2 separate regions of the Homo sapiens genome follow, and region 2 is linked to region 1. The links are contacts of gene promoters, found by promoter capture Hi-C in human tissues and cell types (Jung and others, 2019). All regions are on one chromosome and are shown on one strand. The core of a region is centred on a gene start or on the middle of the fragment in contact, and the rest is flanking DNA. Distances in the headings are between cores, read along the strand shown. Region 1 holds the start of COQ3 (coenzyme Q3, methyltransferase). Region 2 has its middle 170 kb from the start of PRDM13.

Evidence for each region. Contacts are between HindIII fragments. The study calls those that stand out against the background at their distance.
Region 2: a contact is called between a fragment that was not itself captured here and the fragment with the promoter of COQ3 in region 1, in 1 of the 25 tissues and cell types used here (lymphoblastoid cells).

What each region holds. Positions count from the first base shown.
Region 1 is chr6:99,391,422-99,397,017 of GRCh38, reverse strand. COQ3 (coenzyme Q3, methyltransferase) reads left to right here and starts at 2,823. Exons shown (of 7, transcript NM_017421.4): 1 at 2,823-2,944. The coding sequence starts at 2,839. RefSeq lists an enhancer at 2,928-3,567. The HindIII fragment of the contact is 11,809 bases long and covers 1-5,596 here.
Region 2 is chr6:99,775,703-99,781,298 of GRCh38, reverse strand. No RefSeq gene overlaps it. Among named protein-coding and RNA genes, the nearest start is that of PRDM13, 170 kb to the right of the region's middle. The HindIII fragment of the contact is 3,860 bases long and covers 129-3,988 here.

The DNA of each region.
Region 1 (5,596 bases), core at 1,574-4,073:
GGAGGAATTAGATGAATTTTTTTTTTTTTTTTTTTTGAGATGGAGTCTCGCTCTGTCACCAGGCTGGAGTGCAGTGGTATGATCTTGGCTCTGCAACCTCCGCCTCCCAGGTTCAGACAACTCTCCTGCCTCAGCCACCCAAGTAGCTGGGACTACAGGTGTGCGCCAACATGCCCAGCTAATTTTCGTATTTTTAATAGAGACAGGGTTTCATGTTGGCCAGGATGGTCTTGACCTCGTGATCCGCCTGCCTCGGCCTCCCAACATGCTGGGATTGCAAGTGTATGCCACCGCACCTGGCCAAATTAGATTAGTTCTAAACACATCTAGCTGTTAAGTTTTTCAGTTTTAAGTGGAATTTTGTTGTGTAAAATTTAAAAGAGAAAATGGGCTTTAGCTCTTCAAAAAGCACACATGGGTTATATTTATATCATAAAGGTTTATCAGATACCTATAGAGTTCCTTTAAAGATACCTTGGTTAAATCTGCCACATTCTGATTTTGGTAGAAGTTATGATAGAATTATTCTGAGTTACCAATTTATGTAAAATTTTTAAGTAAATGTGAAAACTTACCAGTTAAACTGAGTGGATGTAGTGGTATATCTCTTTTTTTTTTTTTTTTTTGAGACACAGTCTTGCTCTGTTGCCCAGGCTAGAGTGCAATGGCGTGATCTCAGCTTACTGCAACCTCCACCTCTCTTGTTCAAGCGATTCTCCTGCCTCAACCTCCCAAGTAGCTGGGATTACAGGATTCCATCACCACTCTCAGCTAGTTTTTGTACTTTTTGTAGTAGAGATGGGGTTTCACCATGTTGGCCAGGCTGGTCTTGAACTCCTGACCTCAGGTGATCCGCCCACCTCAGCCTCCCAAGGTGCTGGGATTACAGGTGTCAGCCTCCACGCCCAGCTGTATATCATTTCAAAGCTACAAGGGAGCACTTTACCCTTGGATGAAAAAAAAAATGTTTATAAAGTTGAATTACAAAACAGACATTAAGAGTTTTAGAGCAAAATAAATACGCAGACTTACGGGTGAGACCATAACAATAATAGTCTGGGGAAATATCTCCAACAATGGCCATATACTGCATTACAGCCATTACAACTTTCCAATACCACTTAGGCTTAAGGGTCATTGGGAAAGCCCTTTGTTGATGTTTGTAGCGAGAAATACTATGAGCTAGTTTTGCTTATTTGGGCCAGACCTGTTCTGGGTGTTCAAAAGACATACTTGTCAGCATAAAGCAAATCATTGATTCCCCTTCTTGTTAAAATGTAGTGGAAAGGCTCTGAAGCCCAGTGAAGTGTGGTACCTTCAAAGAAAGTACATATAAAGCTCCTAGAACTTTATTTAATTGTGCTTGCACTTTGCTTTTTCCTTGGATGTGTCACTCCAATAAATACAAGACGTGCTACATTTTCTTTTGTGCAGAGCTTTCTGCCTTCATGTGGAGAGAGGATCATGTATCTAAGGGTAGAGGAGCTCTGAAGAGGACATAGCAACTGAAAAGTGCGACCACCCTTAGGAGGAGGTCAATATTTTAGCTAAGAACCATGAATGAAAGACTATTGCTGTCTGGGTGAGGTGGCTCCCACCTGTAATCCCAGCACTTTGGGAGGCTGAGGCAGGCAGATCACCTGAGGTCAGGAGCTTGAGACCAGCCTGGCCAACATGGTGAAACCCTGACTGAAAATACAAAAATTAAGCCGGGAATGGCAGCATACACCTGTAATCCCAGCTACTTACGAGGCTGAGGCACGAAGAATCACCCGAGCCTGGGGGACGGAGGTTGCAATGAGCTGAGATCCTACCACTGCACTCCAGCCTGAGCAACCGAGTGAGGCTGTCTCAAAAAAAAAAGAAAAAAAAAGATTCCTGAGCGGTAAATTTCGCTAACTGAAAGAACCCTTTACCAATTTGACCCTACCTGTTGAAAATACAGAATAATTTTTTGTCTTCAATGTTGGAGATTCGTCATTGTTCTTACCCAAAGAAAGACTTTGTGCATTTAGACGTAAAATGTTACTGATCACTGTTCCTAGCTCTAAATGAAGTTTGCCTAGACTGAGCCACAGAAGCCTCCTACTACATGATGTATATACCCTGTACAAGATAATAGTCATTTGCAGAAAATAAGTTTTACATTTGGCCTTCTGGCCATCTGATATTTGAGTGCCTTGAAAGGGGAAACAATTCTTCCCTTGAGGAAGAAGTGCTCCCATACTCTTGCATTCTTAGCAGTAGGGTCAATGTCTTACAGGAATATAAAAGTCCTTGAAGAGACATCTGTTAAGTGTGAAATAGAGCTACATGGCAATAAAAGAAGACACAGCACGAAGTAATGGCCTGATTGAGGTCAACTTCGAACATGAGGTTTGAGGTGTCCTATAGCAATAAAGTATCTTCAAAGTTGTTTATGATAGTAAAAACATCTTGCAGTTTAATTCCATGTGCAATTTGCTAAATGAGCGTGAAAGTATAGCCATACATACATAACACTCAACAATACAATCATGAAAGTCGGCTGCAGGCCGGGCGCGGTGGCTCACGCCTGTAATCCCAGCCCTTTGGGAGGCCAAGGCGGGCGGATAACCTGAGGTCAGGAGTTCGAGACCAGCCAACATGGAGAATCGCTTGAACCCGGGCGGCGGAGATTGCAGTGATCCCAGAATCCGAGATGGGGACTGTACTCCAGCCTGGGCAACAGAACAGACTCTGCTAAAAAAAAAAAAAAAAAAAAAAGTCGGCTGCAGACGGCGAAAGTGATCTCGGAACCTTTATGTTGGGGATCTTTTTTCGGGAGGGACCGGAAAAGAGGTGGGATCGTTTGTCGCGATGTGGAGTGGCCGTAAGCTGGGCTCCTCCGGGGGTTGGTTTTTAAGAGTGCTGGGGCCTGGAGGCTGTAATACAAAAGCTGCGCGTCCCTTAATTTCCTCGGCGGGTGAGTGTGTGTGCGGAGGTCCTTCGCATGCAGTCAATTGCGAGCGCTGGCGTCTCTGCGCATGCGCCGGGGGTGGGGCGGTGGGTTGTCTCTGGACCTCGCGAGGGGTCAGCGCGAAACCTAAGGCTTGGTCCTGGCCCCATCTCTCTCCATTGTAAACCTCGCATAGTCCCGTTGGCGGACGCCGGGGAAAAGAGCTCAGGACCAGTGGTCCTGTCTGGAAAAGCGCAGGCCGCGGGTCTCTTGTGGCTGAGCTCCTTGCCCCAGGAGCCGGCGACCCGCTCTGCGTGTGCTGCAGTCTGAAGGTCATGCATCTTTCCTTTGCCGGGGCAGGAATAACTCACGCCTCGTAGTTATGCATAGCTTTGTATCTGTGTTTTGTTTGCACAAAGCTTGCTGTTTTTTTCAGAAAGAATTTAAGGCAGCTGTATTACTTTTTGATTAATAGGTTAATCCAACAGACTGCATTTGCAAATGAGATCAAGAAAATAATGCACTGCTCAGTGCTTGTAGACAGCAGTCTGATTTTCGAACTCTCAGTATTAAGTAGAAACTTAAGCTCATCTTTCACATGGAACTCTTAACAAATACTGTATGCCAGACACTGGTATGAGCACTGGGAATTTAAAAATGAATGACACCGCAAGGATCTCTTTAAAAATGTTAGGATAAACCTAAGATCAGGATATAATGAACAAAAAAATGGGGAATCTAACCGCCCATTAATAAAGGTTATTAGTTGGTACTATCATACAGTGAAAAATAGTACAGCCAATAAAAATGATTTAAATCTATTTGTACCCACATGGAAAAGTAGTAAGATATAGTGTTAAGAAAGTAAAGTTTCATTGTTTCCTGGAAGGAGCCAAAAAAAAAAAAAAGTTACAAATCAGTATGTATAGTGAACTTGGAGTTACAGGTGGAGATATATAGAGAAATTTTGCAGTGATTGCCTGTGGTAGAGTAGGTGATTTTCTATCATTTTATCCTTTATATACTTTTCTTTTTCTGAACTTTTTTTAGTAAACATGTGTCTTTTATAATCAAAAATTTAGAAAAGATATAATAAACCTAGTTCCAATTTTTGAGGGGTGAACATAGAAGGAGCATTTAATCCATATTTGGGATCAAGGAAACTTCTTGAATGGGATATTTAGAGAAATCTTGAAGGAGGTGGCCAGTTTTAGAAGCAGTTGGTCGAGACAGGCAGCTCACTTGAGGTCAAGTGTTCGAGACCAGCCTGGCCAACATGGTGAAACCCTATCTACTAAAAATACAAAATTAGCTGGGCGTGGCGGCAGGCGCCTGTAATCCCAGCTACTCGGGAGGCTGAGGCAGGAGAATCGCTTGAACCTGGGAGGCAGAGGTTGCAGTAAGCCAAGATCACACCATTGCACTCCAGCCTGAGCAACAGAGTGAGACTCTGTCTCAAAAAAAAAAAAAAGCAGTTGGAGAGGGGAAAGGACCAGCTCGAGAATCTGTGAGAAAGTTTGTGAGAAACTGCAAGGTTCCTTGAAAAGTAAAGTGTGTAGGTGGAGGGCAGAAGGTAAAGGCAGGGGGTGGCAAGGGATGAGGAAGAGGCCTTTTTGGCCATGACACATTCATGAAAGGCCATTTACACCTCCTGAGGTAGACTATCCCGCGGACAGTGGAAATCACTGAAGAAGCAACATGAACAGATTTATGTTTAAGAAATAACACTTGGCAGCTGTCTACATAGAATGTGGGATGGAGTCAGGCAAGTCTAGGCCCAGGAAGACCTTAGAGCAATCCAGACAGTAAATTATCATTGCTGGAAATAAAGTATTGGTAGGGTAAAAGTCTGTCACCTGTTTTATTCACCATCAGCATGGTGCCTGGTAGGTGCTGAATAAATGACTTTTCAATAAATAAAATGAAAAAAACCTTTTCCCATTCCTTTAAAATTTCAAATACCAGGATGATCACAGATTCAAGGTAGAGAAGGAATTGGTAGCATTCTGTTTAAATACAAACTCAATTACTCTCTTTCCGTTGTGGTAAGGTGGTAGAGTGGTTTTTATTTTTACTTTTTAGATTAATTAATTTTTTTTTTTGAGAAAAGGTCTTGCTCTGTATCCCAGGTTAGAGTGCAGTGGCATGACCACAGTTCACGGCAGCCTTGGCCTCCCTGGCTCAATTGGTCCTCCCACCTCAGCCTCCCAAGTAGCTGGGACTACAGGCAGGCACCACAATGCATGGCTAATTTTTATATTTTTAGTAGAGAAGGGGTTTCACCACATTGTCCAGGCTGGTCTTGAACTCCTGGGCTCAAGCAGGCCGCCCACCTTGGTCTCCCAAAGTGATGGGATTACAGGCATTGAGCCACTGCGTCTGGCCTAAGATGATTTTTAAACCTCTTGAGAATTGTAGCAATACTGATGACTTAGGGATTCATTTTCCAGAAATAGAGGAGGTAAGAGAGAGATCAAGGGTTGTCTGTCCGTAAAAGCAGATATTGTTAAAATTTCTAAGGCTTAGTTTCATAATAGTAATACCTTATATGTCGTTATCGATGTATCATGGTTTACATAGTTAAACTTTATTCTTTAATAATATCTCATGTATCTACCTAAAGTCATACAGGAGGTGATATTTGAACTGGGTCTTAAAAGGTAGTCCAGATAGAGTTGG
Region 2 (5,596 bases), core at 809-3,308, 390 kb before region 1:
AACTAAATGAACTAAATATAAAAATATTCTTTTAATCCAAAAGAAGACAGTCAAAAGGGGAAATGGAAACAGAGAACACATGGGACAAATAGAAAACAAACACAAAGAAATTGATTTAAACCTAACCATATCAATAATTACATTTAATTACATTAAACGTAAAAAGTCTACATCCCAATTAAAAGCAGAGATTTCAAATTAGATTTTTAAAACAATAAGACCGAACTATATGCTGCCTGCAAGAAACAAACTTCAAATATAAAGACGCAAATAGGTTAAAATAAAACCAGGGAGATTTGGCAAGATGGACAACTAGATGCAGCCGCTACTGAGGTAGAACAGCTGCTACCGAGGGAACAGGACGGCTGGTGCACTCCTAACAGATCTTCAGAGGGAAGGCAGGGAGTGGATAGAGGGAAGACACAGGAGCTGAACTGAAGTGGGAACCCTGCATGGGGCTACCGTGCAATGGGACTCATTCTTGGCCCCCAGTGACTCCAGGGGAATGGGTGACTTGAGCTGGCAAGGAGCAACCCACTCTCACCACAGGCCTCCGGAATCCCGGCATGAGGAGACTCCTTAACTATTACAGACACTTGAGCCAGCAGGGAGAACTGCTCAGAGAAGTGGTAGGGGCAGCATGCCAGCCAATGTAGAGCCCAGAGGGTTTGGTGCAGGAGCTTTGTAGCAGAGCATGACCAGGGACACCCATTCCCCAAGGCTCAACTTGCTCCCATAGGAGACTTTAGCCCCAGAAAAACTGTCCAACCTGAGCTCTGCAGGGCGGTCTTGGCCATCAGATAGGGCCAGTCTGACCTGAGCACCCCTTGGTCTGCTGGGCTCTTCCAAGGGCCCAGCCTGGCCACACCTGCTTGCAGTGCAGCATCTGGTGCCCCGAGGGTCCACATCATAGCTCCTGTGCTGGCATAGAGCTCCAGCTCCAGCCCCTGTGGCCACACATCAGCCTACCCACTCTCTCCCCACACTACAGCTTCCCTGAGTCCACAGCCACCTCTCACATTTCATTGCTGGGCTGTGTGTGCATGGGTGGATTTTGCCTTCCCTGCCCTACCAGTGCACATGTGCATGTCCACCCCACCCTGCCTCTGCTTCCAGTGGGACTGCACCCCACTCCCCCTTGCCTGCTATACCACCATTGCAGCCATAGCCTTGGTGGACACAGAGCCAGCCAGCCCCACCTGCACAAGCGCCCCACCCCAGAGCCAGCACTGCCACCAGTGAAACTAGGCATGAAGAACAGCAAACCCTCCCCTACATTTCTTTAAATGAAAGAAAGAATGCCAAATGCAGCTAGAGAGAAAGGCACATACAGACCTGCCCCTGCCAGGTCCCCACCCCTGTGCTAGCACCACCACCAGTGTAACCACACACACAGTCACCAACAGGCGCCCCCAACCACCCCAGGCCATGCTGCTTCCACTGCTGCTGTGAATGCCTGCACAGGGGCAGACACCCCAGCACCCGCTAGCACCCCACTGCAGCCGACAAGTGTGTGCCCCGCTGCACTGCCACTGCCGCTGCTGCTAACACATGCGAACAAGGATGGATGCTGCTGCCACCACTCTATAAAACACTTTGGCTGCCACCACCCATCAAAATGTAGTGACCAGTAGTCTGAGAGCACCTTCTCCCCCCACCACTGTGGGTTTCTAAGCTCAAGGAACTAGAGAACAAAGTCAAGGACAGATACAAGTCACCCAGAGTTAGAGCATGCAGTTGGGAGCTAAGCCTTGGGCCTCCAAAATCTTACAGATGAAGCCAACAAACTGAACCTACCTTATACTACAATCAAACCTTCAAGGTCATCAAAAAGGATAAAAGGATAAAAACCCATCCAAAGGAAAGCAATTTCAAAGAATGAAGGAATACCAGCCCACAAAGATGAGAAAGGACCAGTGCAAGAACTCTGACAACTCAAAAAGCCAGACTGCCTTCTTTCTTCCAAATGGCCACACTGCCTCTCTAGCAAGGGTTCTGAACTGGGCTGAGATGGCTGAAATGACAGAAATAGAATTCAGTATATGGATAGGAATGAAGATCATTGAGATGCAGGAGTACACTAAAACCCAATTCAAGAAAGGTAAGAATCACAACAAAATGATACGATATCTGACAGACAAAATAACCCATATAGGAAATAATGTAACTAACCTGATAGAGCTGAAAAACACAATACAAGAATTTCATAATGCAATCCCAAGAATTGAAAGCAAAATAGATAAAGCTGAGGAAAGAATCTCAGAGCTTGAAGAGCTGCTTTAAGAAATAAGACAGACAAGAGTAGAGAAAAAAGAACGAAAAGGAATAAACAAACGTACGAGAAATATGGGATTATGTAAAGAGACCACATCTATGACTCATTGGTGCCCCTGAAAGAAATGGGAGAATGGGAGCAACTTGGAAAACATATTTCAGGATATTATCCATAAGAATTTCCCCAACCTAGCTAGAGAGGCCAACATTCAAATTCAGGCAATCCAGAGAACCTCAGGAAGATACTTCACAACAAGATCATCCCCAAGACATATAATCATCAGCTTCTCCAAGGACTAAATGAAAGAAAGAATGCTAAATGCAGCTAGAGGGAGAGGTCAGGTCACCTAAAAAAGGAAGTCCATCACACTAACAGCAGACCTCTCGGTAGAAACCCACAAGCCAGAAGAGATTGGGGACCAATATTCAACATTCTTAAAGCAAAGAAGTTCCAAATTCCAACCCAGAAATTCTATTTTTTTTTTTCAGACAGCATCTCATTCTGTCACCCAGGCTGGAATACAGTGGCACAATCACAGCTCACTGCAGCCTCAACCTCCCAGCCTCAAGTTATTCTCCCACATCAGCCTCCTAAGTAGCTGGGACTACAAATGTGCAGCACCACCGCATTGGCTAGTTTTTCATAATTTTTTGTAGAAATGGGGTTTCTCCATCTTGCCCAGGCTGGTCTCAAACTCCTGGGCTCAAGTGATCTGCCCTCCTCAGCCTCCCAAAACCCAGAATTTCATATCTGGCCAAACTAAGCTTTATAATTGGAGGAGAAATAAGATCCTTTTCAGATATGCAAATACTGAGGGAATTCATTACCACCAGGCCTGCCTTGCAAGAGCTCCTGAAGGAAGCACTAAATATAGAAAGGAAAAACTATTACCAGCCATTACAAAAACACACTGAAGTACACAGACCAATGATGCTATGAAGCAACCACATAAACAAGTCTGCAAAATAACCAGCTAGCATCATGATAACAAGATCAAATTCACACATAACAATATTAACCTTAAATGTCAATGGGCTAAATGCCCCAATGAAAAGACACAGAATGGCAAGCTGTATAATGAGCCAAGACCCATCAGTATGCTGTCTTCAAAAGACCCATCTCAATTGCAAAGACACATATAGGCTCAAAACAAAGGGATGGAGGAAAATTTACCAAGCAAATGGAAAATAGAAAAAAAAGCAGGAGTTGCAATCCTAGTTTCCAAAAAAACAGACTTTAAACCAACAAAGGTTAAAAAAAAAAAAAAAAAAAGGCGGAGGCAGGGGGGGCGTTACATAATGGTTAAGGGTTCCATTCAAAAAGAAGAGCTTGTACTTCTTGCACTCAATACAGGAGCACTCAGATTCATAAAGCAAGTTCTTAGAGACCTACAAAGAGATTTAGACTCTCACACAATAAAAGTGGGAGACTTTAACATCCCAGTGACAGTATTAGACAGATCATCGAGACAGAAATGTCTCAGTGATAAAGTCAAAGATATTCAGGACCTAAACTCAGCTCTGGATCAAGTGGACCTGATAGATATCAGCAGAACCCTCCACCCAAAAACAACAGAATATATATTCTTCTCATTGCCACATTGCACTTACTCTAAAATTGATCATATAATTGGAAGTAAAACACTCCTCAGCAAATGCAAAAGAACTGAAATCATAACAGTCTCTCAGACAGCACAATCAAATTAGAATTCAAGATTAAGAAACACTCAACACTACACAGCTACATGGAAATTAACAACCTGCTCCTGAATGACTCCTGCATAAATAATGAAATTAAGGCAGAAATCAAGAAGTTCTTTGAAACCAATGACAACAAAATGACAACGTACCAGAATCTCTGGGCTGCAGCTAAAGCAGTGTTAAAATGGAAATTTATAGCACTGACTGCCCACATCTAAAAGTTAGAAAGATCTCAAATTGACAACCTAATATCACTACTAAAAGAACTAGAGAGCCAAGAGCAAACAAACCCCAAAGCTAGCAGAAGACAAGAAATAAGCAAGAACAGAGCGGAACTGAAGGAGATAGAGACATGAAAAACCCTTCAAAAAATCAACGAATCCAGGAGGTGGTTTTTTGAAAAAATTAATAAAATAAATAGACCACTAGCTAGACTAATAAAAAAGAGAGAAGAATCAAATTGGCATAATCAAAAATTATAAGGGAGTTATCACCATTGACCCCACAGAAATACAAACAACTATCAGAGAATACTATAAACACCTCTATGCACAAAATAGAAAATCTAGAAGAAGTGGATATGTTCCTGGACACATACACCCTCCCAAGACTGAACCAGGAAGAATTTGAATCTCTGAATAGGCCAATAATGAGTTCTGAAATTGAGGCAGTAATAAATAACCTACCAACCAAAACAAGCTCAGGACCAGACAGATTTACAGCTGAATTCTATCAGAGGTACAAAGAGGGGCTGTTATCATTTCTACTGAAACTATTCCAAACAATTGAAAAGGAGGAACTCTTTCCTAACTCCCTTTATGAGGTCAGCATCATCATGATGCCAAAATGTGGCAGAGGTAAAACAAAAATAGAAAATTTCAGGCCAATATTCCTGATGAATATTGATGTAAAAATCCTCAATAAAATGCTGGCAAACCAAATCCAACAGCACATCAAAAAGCTTATTTGCCATGATCAAGTTGGCTTCATCCCCAGGAAGCAAGGTTGGTTCAACATATGCAAATCAATAAATGTAATTCATCACATAAACAGAACTAAAGACAAAAACCAAACGATTATCTCAATAGATGCAGAAAAAAACCTTTGATAAAATTCAACATCCCTTCATGTTACAAACTCTCAATAAAGTAGCTATTGAAGGAACATACCTCAAAATAATAAGAGCCATATATGACAAAGTCACAGCCAATATCATACTGAATGGGCAGAAGCTGGAAGCATTTCCCTTGAAAATCAGCACAAGGCAAGGATACCCTCTCTCACTGCACCTATTCAACATAGTATTGGAAGTTCTGGCCAGGGCAACCAGGCAAGAGAAAGAAATAAAGAGCATCCAAATAGGAAGAGAGGAAGTCAAACGATCCTTGTTTGCAGATGACATGATCCTATATCTAGAAAACTGCATAGTCTTGGTCCAAAAGCTCTGTAAGCTGATAAACAACCAGTAAAGTTTCAGGACACAAAATCAACATACAAAAATCACTAGAATTTCCATACACTAACAATTGCCAAGCCGAGAGCCAATTCACAAATGCAATCTCACTCACAATTGCCACAAAAAGAATAAAGTACCTAGGAATACATTAATCAGGGAGGTAAA